4 separate regions of the Homo sapiens genome follow, and all the other regions are linked to region 3. The links are contacts of gene promoters, found by promoter capture Hi-C in human tissues and cell types (Jung and others, 2019). All regions are on one chromosome and are shown on one strand. The core of a region is centred on a gene start or on the middle of the fragment in contact, and the rest is flanking DNA. Distances in the headings are between cores, read along the strand shown.

Region 1 (2,890 bases), core at 1-2,500, 500 kb after region 3:
TTATATTACTTTTAGTATAGTGCCAATCCAGACTTTCATTTTTAGCACATTTCTTAGCACTAGAAGGACCATCTGAGATCAATTTGGGTCCCAAAAAGCCAATAGGGTGGTCTTTGGACAGTGGCTTCAATTCTCAGGTACCCATTTTTTTCACAATTCCAAACTAGTGAACAGGTTGTAGAGACACAGCCGAGCAACATACCAGAGTGGCTGACGGGGCGGTTCCCACCCGACACCGCCTTACCCTGCTTCCAGGGCCCAAGAGCATACAGCACCTCACCAACCCTGCGCAGGCCTAGCTGTCAAACACTGGAGTGTCCATTCAGAGCTTGCCACTGCACCCTCCCCCAACATGCCTGAAACGGTGGCTGTACACACATTGCTGATTACTTTATACCATTTTATTTTATTTTTATTTTTGGTAGAGATAAGATCTTGCTATGTTGCCCAGGCTGGTCTCAAACTCCTGGATTCAAGTGATCCTCCCACCTTGCGCCTGGCCTGCTTTGTATCATTTTATATCCAACAATGACCACAGCTACTCCACCAGGTGTTAATGGCTCCTGCCTGGATAGACCTCTTGGCTCCTGGAGAGAGGCACATACCTTCACAGCTGCCCACTTACACTTTTTAGATGGACGCAGAGAAAGGGATAAGTTAAACTCAGTTGTGGGTATGTGGCCCTTTTCAAACTACACAAGTGATAGAATCTGCATACCCTTCAGCAATTTGTTTCTGCTTTGACATCCAATGAGTTCACTTTAATTGATGTGTAGTTACACTGTAGGAACATACCATAGTCTGTCACTGGGTAGCTTTTTGGTTTTGGACACTGTGGTCTCTCTGCGTGCAAGGGCAAAATTACTCTAGGGTAAATATCTAGGAGTAAAACTGTAAGAGAAAAAAAGGCACATCTTCAATTTCACTAGATCTTGCCAAATTTCTCTCAAAACAGGTGTAATAAATGATGTTTCACCAGCATTGTATGAGGAGTCCCACTGTTGCTCATCTTCTCAATCCCTGGCTGTTCTGAGTTTGATGTCTGCTCACCTGATGACTGTGAAGGATGACTGTGAAGGACCATCCCACCAGGATCGTAACATACAGCTTCCTGGGCATGGCCGCAGTTGAGCAGCATCTCTTCATGCACTTACTGGCTCTCCAAGAAACTTGCCCTTCTCCTTCAGAATTGTTTCGGCTCTTTACAGAATTTGTCCTTTCACTGTGTCGATGGTGTCCTTGACACATAAGAATTTTTTTTTTTTTTTTTTTTTTGAGCCAGGGTCTCTGTCACCCAGGCTGAAGTGGTGCAGTGGCTCAAGCAATCCTCCCGCTTCAGCCTCCCAAAGTACTGGGATTACAGGCGTGAGTCACCATGCCTGGCCTAGATTTTCATTTTAACATACATAGTTTTATAGCCTTTATAGCCTGTTATTAGTTTGGCTTATTTAAGAAATCCTTCCCTCTCCCATGGTGACAAAGCTCCTCTCCCATGCTGGCCAAGTTCATAAATCACAGTGGTCCCAGCACCACGTCCAGTGCAGACCTCCCACGCAACTGGCCTGCAGCGCTTTCCCATCCATGTCCACATGCTCGAGAGCCTGTTCTGGGCCCCGTCTTGGGCCATATCACTGCCCTGCGTGAATACTGCTATTTTATTTTTTATGAGACAGAATCTTGTTCTGTCACCCAGGCTGGAGTACAATGGCACAATCCCAGCTCACTGCAACCTCCGCCTATCAGGTTCAAGCAATTCTCCAGCCTCAGCCTCCCGAGTAGCTGGGATTACAGGCGCCTGCCACCATGCCCAACTAATTTCTATATTTTTAGTAGAGATAAGGTTTCATCATGTTGGCCAGGCTAGTCTGGAGCTCCTGACCTCCGGTGATCCGCCTGCCTTGACCTCCCAAAGTGCTGGGATTACAGGCGTAAGCCACCACACCTGGCCAAATACTGCTATTTTAAATAAGATAACTTCCTATCTGGTAGAGCAAATCCTCAGGCCAAGCCTCTCTTCAAATGTGGCCACAGCAGCATCCACTTACAAAGGGCAAATAAATTCCTGTTGGAAGTTTTATTAGAATTATACTGAATTTATAGATTATTAAAGGGAGAATTGACAACTTCAGAAGCTTGAATCTTCCTATATATAAATACATCTTTATTGAGGTCTGCTAAAATATCAGTTATTTTTCTCTAAAGTTACATGCATATTTCGTAATATTGATTCCGCAGTACCTGACATTTTGGTTTCTATTATCAATGGTATCTTTTTTAACATTACATTTCCTCTTTGATGCTGCACTTGTATGTTAATTTTATATCCTGGTGAACTCTATTAATTCTAAAAGATTTTCTGTACATTCTCTTGAGTTTTCTACATAGACTTCTGCAAACAATGACAGCTTTATTTATTCCTTTATAATACTGGCTAGTATTTTCTTGGAGACGAAGACTCATTCTATTGTCTAGGCTGCAGTGCAGTAGTGTGATCTCAGCTCACGGCAACCTCTGCCTCCAGGTTCCAGCAATTCTCTTGCCTCGGCCTCCTGAGTAGCTGGGATTACAAGCGCGCATCACCACGCCTGGCTAATTTTTTCATTTCTAGTAGAGATGGGATTTCACCATGTTGGCCAGGCTGGTCTGGAACTCCTAACCTCAAGTAATCCACCCACCTCGGCCTCCAAAGTGTTGGGATTACAGGCGTGAGCCACCGCGCCCGGCCTAATATTGGCTACTATTTTCCGTACAACGTTTATTAAATGGTGAAAAATGGTTTCCTGTCTTATTCTTTTTTTTTTTTTTTTTTTGAGACAGAGTCTTGCTGTGTTGCCCAGGCTGGAGTGCATTGGCGTGATTTTGGCTCGCTGCAACCTCCGTCTCCCAGGTT
Region 2 (3,140 bases), core at 350-2,849, 400 kb after region 3:
CCGGGAGCAGAAACCCCTCCTGAGGGCAGGACCCCAGCCACCACACACCCTGGCAAGAGCTCGCAACCTGGGGTTGCAAACCCTCCACTGAAGGCAGTGCTGACCTGAGGGTCTCCCTAGGAGGACAGGCGTGAGCAGAGAATCTGTCTGAAGACAAGGCAAAACTGAAGGTGCAGATGAGGACTTAGTTTGTTAGATAAGAACAGTGGATTCACGAGATCTGAACTCACTGGCCCTTGGTGCCCTTGAGACAGGGACATTCAGACCTGTGTTAGTTCATCCTCTTCCCAAGGAGCTCTTCACAACAGAAGGTGACAAGGACAGACGGACACACAGAATTGTTGTTAGGAGCAAAGTAGTTTCCACAAGGATCAAAATCTTCATCTCATCAGATAATCAAAGCACACGTAAGAAGGCTTTCTCAATCCTGGAACACAAGGAGCTTTCACAAAAGAAAACCAGAGGGTCACGGGGAGAGTGCTGGTTCCAGTCGCAGGTCTCAGGCCATCCTGGGGAGGCCGTCTCAGCCGAATCCCATGGGAACATTTAGGACCATTCACTGCCAACAACTCAACAGTGACTCCCAGAAAACTTGTTTATTTTTAGAGACAGGGTCTTGCTCTGTTGCCCGGGCTAGATTGCAGTGGTGCAACCACAGCTCACTGCAGCCTCAACCTCCTGGGCTCAAGCAATCCTCCCCCATCAACCTCCCAAGTAGCTGGGACTACAGGTGTGCTCCACCACACCCGGCTAATTTTTTAGTGTTTTGTAGAGACAGAGTCTTGCTGTGTTGCCAAGGCTGGTCTCTAACTCCTGGGCTCACGCAATCCTCCCACCTCAGCCTCCCAAAGTGCGCCTGGCCTCATAGGATTTTAGAATCTGGGCTCAGATGGTTGATGGTCTGTCTTTCAGTGCAAGGACTCATTGGGATAGGACAGAGCTTATGGCCCAACAGTGCAGGACAGAGAAACACAGCCAGATGAAGGTTCTGATGAGTGAGCTGGTTCCCAGATTGGTAAACTATGTGCCAGGATACATTGTTCTGCAAGATTTTCCTGAAGCAAACAGTGATTGACTGATTTAGTTTTATCTTCCTGGAAAGAATTTTCTGGAAATAATCATTAAATCAGGTTGACACAGGTGATCTCAGCTCTTGATCCCAAGAGTTAAGTGGACACAGGTGGTCTCAATTCTCATCCCGTCCTCAATATTCTGCCAAGGCCCCTCTGTCTTTTCCATCTCTTTTTTTTTTTCATTTTCTTTCTTTCTTTTTTTTTTTTTTTTTTTGAGACGGAGTCTCACGCTTGGTGCCCAGGCTGGAGTGCAATGGCACGATCTCAGCTCACGGCAACCTCCACCTCCCAGGTTCAAGCGATTCTCCTGCCTCAGCCTCCTGTGTAGCTGGGATTACAGGCATGAGCCACCACGCCCAGTTAATTTTTGTATTTTTAGTAGAGACAGGGTTTCACCATGTTGGCCAGGATGGTCTTGATCTCTTGACCTCATGATCCACCTGCCTCGGCCTCCCAAAGTGCTGGGATTACAGGCATGAGCCACTGTGCCCAGCCTTCCACCTCATTTTCTCTGTCATCATTTTTTTCTCCAGCTTCCAGGAGCCGTCGTAGCAGCCGATTAGGACTGGCTGCTGGTGTGGTGATGACCTAGAGGGCTTCTCCCAGGTAAGGTGAGAAGAGGGATCCACTCACTGCAAGAGGCTGCATAAACTTAACCCAACACTGTAAAGGCTCTCCTCATGAACAAAGCATTAGTAGTCTAGATAAAATACTAACAAGCGAAATCTAGCAACGTGTAAAAAAGAATAACATAGTCCAAGTTGGGCTTATTCTAGGAAAGTAAGGTTTATGTAATTTGAAAGGCAATCAATGTAATTCATCACATTTACAAAATAAAGGTGAAAAAATCATACAATCATCTCAGTATGCACAACAAAACATTTTATAAGAACATTTGATAAAATTAAATGTTGGTCATGATTTTTAAAAACCTGTAGCAAATTAGGAATAGAAGGGAACTTCTTTAATTTGATCTAGGGCACCTTAAAAAATAAGCAAACATGGCCGGGCATGGTGGCTCACACCTGTAATCCCAGCACTTTGGGAGGCTGAGGCGGGCGGATCACGAGGTGAGGAGATCGAGACCATGCTGGCTAACACGGTGAAACCCCATCTCTAATAAAAATACAAAAAATTAGCCGGGCGTGGTGGCGGGCGACTTGTAGTCCCAGATACTCAGGAGGCTGAGGCAGGAGAACGGCCAGAACCCGGGAGGCGGAGCTTGCAGTGAGCCAAGATCACACTACTGCACTCCAGCCTGGGCGACAGAGTGAGAATCCGTCTCAAAAAAATAAGAATAAAAATAAGCAAACATATCACTTAATGGACTCATGTAACAGTGAAAAGTATGGCGGGATAGCTAACAGGCCAACCCTCCCACTGATTAAAGGCTTTGGAGCATAAACCAAAGCAAGCGGATTTTGGAGGGAAGTAAAAACTTGGAGGAAAGGACCAGCCTGGTGAATTTGTTTGTTTGTTTGAGACAAAGTCTTGCTCTGTTGCCCAGGCTGGAGTGCAATGGTGTGATCTCAGCTCACTGCGACCTCTGCCTCCCGGATTCAAGCAATGCTCCTGCCTCAGCCTCCTGAGTAGCTGGGATTACAGGTGCCCACCACTGTGCCCGGCTAATTTTTGTATTTTTAGTAGAGATGGGGTTTTGCCATGTTGGCCAGGCTGGTTTTGAACTCCTGACCTCAGGTGATCCACCTGCCTCGGCCTTCCAAAGTGTTGGGATCACAGGCATGAGCCACCACAGCTGACTGATCCTGGTGAGTTTTAAGGCCATTTTCAAAGCTTAAGCCTGAGGACAGCTAGGGAGCCCCGGCATGGTGCAAGCAGATAACCCTAACAGAAAACTGACTGTCTTTCTGGATTTACAAACCAGAAAACAGAGCCTGGACCCACACAATTTCCAGGAAGTCAGGAGGGAGTCCTAAAACGGAAAGAGCCAGAGAAGTCTCTGATAGATCATGCAGGCAAAGGTAGCCTCTAGCAGCTTGCAGGCAGGGCCGCACTGAGATTTGAAAGGCCTCTAAACCTACTCTACAGAAAGCCCAGAGGCAGACA
Region 3 (2,978 bases), core at 62-2,561:
GATAAAGAGCTTCAGAGGAGTGGTTGGGTGAAAATCTGATGGGAGTAGTTTCCAGAAAGAACAAGTGGGAAGGAATTGGAGATAAGGGGAAACTCCAGAGGGGTTTTGCCCTTCAGAGGGTCGACTGGGTGGTAGGAAGAGGAGAGTAGGGAAAATCAATCAGTTACTCAAAAATAAACATGGACCCTACCCCCAACTAAGAGAAATCTTAGATGCCAGCGCGCCTAGGCTCACATCGCGTCTGTTGGAATAAAGTGGTCATGGAGCCCACGGACCTTTCTGAGCACCTGGCACTGGCCAGTGAGGACAAGCAGGAACAGGTCAGACTTCTCAATTCTGAACCGAGGGGGGCATGACTTCCATCTCCTGTGTCTTACATCTGCACGTTTCACAACAAGCCAGAGACGTGGTGGTGGTGCGGCAGGGAAAAGTGCAGCGCTGTGGGGTCAGGCCGACCCAGATCCGCCGTGATCTGGATGCAACCCCCACAGCCAGGGCACGCCGGCCTCGTTGTGCCTGCTTCTCTGGCTGTCAATGGGAAGTTTAAGTGAGGCCACGTGTGGGTTTTTAGCTCTCTGCTTGACACATAGCAGGTACTCAGATTGAGGTGAGCGTTTTAAGGTACAAATTAGGGCACCACTGGGGGGAGTAGCGAGGGCGGAAGAGTATCTTTTTAGAACGCACCGCTGATAGTGGTGATTTAAAAAAAAAAAAAGAGGCACCGTTCACTTTCATCGGGGAGCTGGGAAGAAGACAGAAGAGGTGTTTGGGAGAAGCAAGATGAGCAGCGAGCGAGAGGGAACCGGCCGGCAGGTCATGAAAATCGGCGGCGCGTCGCCCCGCACCTGTCCCGCCCCCGTACCTGGCGGGCGCTCGGGGCAGCCGAGCCCTCCTGCCGCCGCCACCTGCCACCGCAGCAGTTTCCTGGGCCAGCTGGGGCTAAGGTGTTGGCAGTCGTCGTCCGTCAGCTCCCGGTAGGCAGGACGCCGCGGCTGTTTGGCGTCGTCACCTAGCAACCGGCGGCACGCTCCGCCGCCATCGGGTGGACTACAACTCCCACAATACACAGCGCCGCGGCGCGGCCCGGGACGCCAAGCCCTGGGCGCCACCTCCCCGCCATGCCTTTCGGGACTTGTAGTTTCTTGGATACCCGGGCGCGGCGGGTCGCCCCGCCGGCAGGGAGCGCGCCTCGGGCGGGGTGCGGCGCCCGCGCAGGGATTGGGCCGCCTCCGCCCCGCCCGCCCCGCCCGCAGCGCGCGGTGGGCCCGGGGCTCGCGGCGCCCTAGGCGCATGTGCGGCGCGGGGCGGCCGTGACCAGCGGAGCGCTGGGTGTCAGTGAGCAGCGAGGAGCCGCGCGCCCCCGTGCCCGCGTCTGTCCGTGCGCCCGAGCGCCCACTCCCGGGTCTGAGGTCTGCCCGGCGCGCCGCTTGCAGAGCATACTCAGGGCCGCGCACCTGCCCCGCGCACCTGCCCGCCGCCCGCTCGGCGCTCCGGGCTTCGCTAGCCAGCCTCCCTGCGACAGCGCGGGGGCTCCGGCCGTGCCTCCGCGTCCGCCCCGCGCCTCAGCCGGGCCCGGGCGCAGCGCTGCGGAGGGCGAGGGCCGCCCGGAGTCCGGCCAGGGCCGGCGCGGCGATGATGAACAGGTTCCGAAAGTGGCTCTACAAACCCAAGGTGAGCGGCCCCGCTCGGGCCGGACGCCCCCCGCGTCGCGGCCTCTCCCTTCCCCAGGACCGCCCGTCCGCCCTACAAGACGGACTCCCTTTCCCTGTCCGTGGCCGGCCTCTTCCCCCACCGCCGACATCCTTCCCTCCACTCCAAGACTTGGACAGATCTTCATCGCCCTGTCTCTGAGGCGGATCCGAACCTCCCTCCCGGCTTCCTAAGCCCGGGTCCAGGACTGACCCTCCTGCTCCTCCTCTCGGGCCGGGGCGCACTTTCCCTCCCCCTCTATCCAGGGCCACAACGGGCCCCTCTCCCTCCTCATCCCGGTCCTGGACGGTGCCCTCCTACACTTCGTGGTCCCCAGCCCGCGGGCCCGGAGCAGACCCCCTACTACTTCTCCGTCTCCCCTCCCTGCACCAGGAATGCCCCCTCATTCCCGTCCTGCCCCCACCCCCATTGTCCTGGGCCCGGAATAGATCTCCCTCCGCACTCCAGAACAGACCCTCTCCCCACTTCCCCAGGTTCTGAGAGAACCCACATTTCCCAATCCCTGGGTCCAGGGCAGACCCGTCCTTCCATGTCCAGAGAGGATCCTGATGGCCCTGCCAACGGCCTCCCTTCCCGAACCAGGACTGACCCACACCTCGGCCCAGTTCGCGTCCCCTCCCTTGTCCCTATCCTTGTCCCTTCCCCACCCACGTCCTCTGGAATCCGGGACAGGTCCTCCGCCCGGCCCTTGGGGCGAGCGCGCCCGTGGCCAGCAGCCTCGGCGGGGCGGGAGGTGCGGCTCTCCAGCCGGCGCCCGCGCCTCTCCTAGCGCCGCGGGGTCGGGGTCCGGGCGGCGCGCCCCGTGCCTCAGCGGCTGCGCCAGTCGCACTGCGGGCGCTGCGTCCCCGCCGCCCGCCTGGGGCTCGTGCCCGCTGCAGCCGGAGCAGGGCCGGGCGCGCTCGGCGCGGGATGAAGGCGCGGCGGTGTTCAGGATCCCGGCGCAGGGTCCAGGGCGCATCTGGGCGTCCGAGGGTGGCACCCTGGGGCCGGCGCAGCGGGGAGGCCCGGGCCCTGAGATCTTGGGGGAGGTCACGGCTCGGGTGGGGTCACCGCGGCGACCAAGGGCGGGAGTGGGGCCAGCGCTTCGTCCGGGCAGCTCGGACGTCCGAGGCCACCGCGTTGCCGACCTACCCCTCCTCCCTCCACTGGCCGCCTTTCTCCGTCCAGCGTCCCAGGCCTCCGCCTCCACCGTGGGTGAGCTGTCACGGCAGAGGTTTCCTGAAATCCGTGCCTCGCGTGCGCCCATTCCAGGAAGGCGGGAGGTGGGT
Region 4 (2,856 bases), core at 209-2,708, 370 kb after region 3:
CTCCTGAGTTGAAGCGATTCTCATGTCTCAGCCTCCCGAGCAGCTGGAATTACAGGTGCGTGCCACTGTGCCTAGCTAATTTTTTTATTTTGGGTAGAGATGGGGTTTCGCCATATTGGCTAGGCTGGTCTTGAACTCCTGACCTCAGGTGATTCATCCACTTTGGCCTCTCAAAGTGCTGAGATTACACGCATGAGCCACCGCGCCCAGCCCAGCAGTTGCAATTTTTAAAGCTTGCTGTGTAACTTTAGGCCCAAAGATGTGAAACCACCAGTGCCAGACTGGTGCCCATACCAGGCCCTAAACCCGTTGCCCTGAGGCAGTGGCAGAGAAGGCGGAGTTCTCTGTTTATCTGAGTCCCCTGTCCAAAGACAGAGACTGAAGCCCTCTTTCTGTTAAAAGCAGGTTTAAAAAACACTCCAAATAAAATCTAGATGTCAACCAAAAAGAAAACAAAGCTCTGAATTCAGGAGGACTCACCCCTGTGCACCCAGGAAACCTCTGGAGTGAGGGGAGCATGGTGGGTTCCTGCTCATACCACCCCCAAGTCCTGGAAGGAGCCCCAGGTGGTCAGGGAAGAGGGTCACTGAAGCCTGCTGACTTATGCCAGATATGTTGACCTAAAGGGAAAAAACTGAGGCAAAATTAATGTGAAGTGGAGAGTTTACCGGAGCCAGGTTTGAGGACTGCGGCGCCGGGGCACAGGGTCAGGGCAACCCTTTAGGTTCACGCCTTCCAGGGAGGCAACGTGGGTCATGGACAATCTCGAAGGAACTCGCTGATCCATTCAACAACCCCTGCACCCGACGCTCAAGTGCTGACCAGGGTCCCTGCCCAGCCACAGGGGCAGCTCCGCAGTGTCGTCCTAAGGTCGGCCACGTGGACGGCAGGAAGGGCGTCCCAGCAGAGGGATCAGCACGCAAGGGGTCCGGGCAGGAAAAACCAGGCAGTGGAGGCAAGTGAGGGGCTGGCGCGCCTGGAGAGCCAGGGGGCTGGAGGAAGATGAGGCTGGGCTTTGAATGGGGGCCTGGGGCTCCAGAGCAGAGACTGGGGGAACAGGCTGTCATGCTTCTGATGGGGGCCAGGAGAGGGGAGAAGCCATGGTCACTGTCCAGGAGCTCCTGAGCAGTGTCCCCACCCAGACCCCAAGGCCTGAGTGACCTCTGAGGAGAGCGGTCCAGCCCTTACAGGGCCACAGCCTCTGCCGGCCCCTGCCCTCTCCACCTCATCCCCACAGCCTCAGCCTGAGCCTGCCACTGCTCGGCCCCAGCAGCCAGGCCCAGAGACAGAGGCCTGCTCAGCACGCCTTGGTGGCCCTTCCAGTCTCCATCTGCAGACTCCCTCCCACCAGCCTGCCTGGCCTCACCCTCCAGCCCCTACAAGTCACCCAAAGCCCGTGGCCATGTGACCCCCAGTAGCCCTGATGGTCAGCTGAGGCCTGTGCTCCAGCCCCGGGTTCATAGGTACCTGGAAGGCACCAGAACACCGTCAGCTTGGAAGGGTCAGGGCTGGGCTCCAGGAAGCAGCCTGGAAGGTCTGGGAGACCATGGTACTTGCTCTGGGTGGGGGCTGGGGGGCCTAGAGCCCCTCCCCACGACAAGGGGAGAACCCCGTAGGCCACACGGTGCTCCCAGCGCCAGCAGCAGAGCGCCTATATCAGCCCCAGGCTGTCGCCAAGGGCCCATTTTACAGAGGAGGAAACTGAGGCTCGGTCAGGTCAGCCTGTGGGGCAAGAGCGGAAACCCAGACCTGTCGGTCCTCCCTGGCCGCCCACCTCCGCCTCTGTCTCCTGCTTCCCTGAGCGCCCTCCTCACCGGAGACCCCTGCCCCTGCCCCAGTTGCCCCCGCGCCCCGCCTGGCCCATGCAGGCCTCGCCTTCCTGGGAGCGGAGCGGCCGAGACCGTCCGGATTTCAGATGCCAAGCTGAGAGGCGCCCGGGCCTCCGCCGCTTGGATACTCAGGTTCGAGGAGGGCACACCCAACGCAGCGGACGTGGGCAGTGCAGCCCCACCCACGGCAGAGCGGGGACCCGCGAGCCCACGCCCAGGCCGGACTTGCGGGGTCTCCTCCAACGCCGTCGGGGCGCTCCTATCCCGCCGCGAACGCCCCGAGCCCGAGTCCGTGGGGAGGAAGAACAGGGGCGCGGGGAGCCGCCGAGCAGCCCAGGGGAACCCCAGGACGGCGCGGGTCTGGCCACGGTGGGAGGGAGCAGGGCGGGGTGGAACGGAGCTGCGGGTGAGACGGGGCGGGGGGCGGGCCGAGGTCTCTTATGAAGTGGAACTACAGACCGGGAGGCCAGAGGAAGAAGGAGGAAAAGCAAAACGGTCCCCAGGCCCACAGGGCGCCTAACGGGGCTCCACAGGAGGCCGGGAGGTGGGAGTGGCAGAAAGGCGCCCAAGGCCCCAGGCTCGCCCTACCCCGCATCTTCCATGGGAAGATGGCCCAAAACCACACCCCATGCAGCCCTGCGTCCCAAAGACCCCCAGAGCAGGAAGGGAGGGGCTGCGGGGGACCCCTGTAGCCAGCTCCTCCCAGAGCCCTGGCCCAGGCAGCCTCCCTGCAGCTTCCACTGGGGGAGCGCGCGGCCTGCAGGGGCGCCTGGGAAGAGCAGATCTCACCCTCCTGGGCTTCACAATCCAGTGTGGGGTGGCAGGGAGGAAAGAAACAAACACCCCGGGACCCCTCAGGGACAAACGCTTAGAAGAAAATGCGGGGCTGGGTGTGTCGGCGTGCGCTGGGGACCCAGCTACAGGCTCTGGGCTCTGTGGGCTGGTACCGGCACTGTGGGCCCCACTACTCAGGAGGCCCAGTGAGGAGGATTGCTTGAGCCTGGGAGGTTGAGGCTGCAGGGAGCTG

Evidence for each region. Contacts are between HindIII fragments. The study calls those that stand out against the background at their distance.
Region 1: a fragment that was not itself captured here is called in contact with the fragment with the promoter of ZFYVE28 in region 3 in 1 of the 25 tissues and cell types used here (dorsolateral prefrontal cortex).
Region 2: a fragment that was not itself captured here is called in contact with the fragment with the promoter of ZFYVE28 in region 3 in 1 of the 25 tissues and cell types used here (spleen).
Region 4: a contact is called between a fragment that was not itself captured here and the fragment with the promoter of ZFYVE28 in region 3, in 1 of the 25 tissues and cell types used here (H1 embryonic stem cells).

What each region holds. Positions count from the first base shown.
Region 1 is chr4:1,921,702-1,924,591 of GRCh38, reverse strand. The region is part of intron 5 of NSD2 (nuclear receptor binding SET domain protein 2); the gene reads right to left. Among named protein-coding and RNA genes, the nearest start is that of NSD2, 52 kb to the right of the region's middle. The HindIII fragment of the contact is 6,257 bases long and covers 1-2,890 here.
Region 2 is chr4:2,016,209-2,019,348 of GRCh38, reverse strand. LOC124900839 reads left to right here. Exons shown (of 4, transcript XM_047416543.1): 3 at 1,607-1,679. Among named protein-coding and RNA genes, the nearest start is that of NELFA, 8.8 kb to the right of the region's middle. The HindIII fragment of the contact is 5,535 bases long and covers 1-3,140 here.
Region 3 is chr4:2,416,978-2,419,955 of GRCh38, reverse strand. It overlaps ZFYVE28 (zinc finger FYVE-type containing 28), which reads left to right and starts at 1,311. Exons shown (of 13, transcript NM_020972.3): 1 at 1,311-1,671. The coding sequence starts at 1,633. CFAP99 (cilia and flagella associated protein 99) reads right to left here and starts at 1,001. Exons shown (of 16, transcript NM_001193282.4): 1 at 863-1,001. RefSeq lists silencers at 787-836, 1,077-1,306, 1,427-1,586 and an enhancer at 2,592-2,978. The HindIII fragment of the contact is 18,624 bases long and covers 1-2,978 here.
Region 4 is chr4:2,046,407-2,049,262 of GRCh38, reverse strand. No RefSeq gene overlaps it. Among named protein-coding and RNA genes, the nearest start is that of NICOL1, 5.8 kb to the right of the region's middle. The HindIII fragment of the contact is 3,213 bases long and covers 1-2,856 here.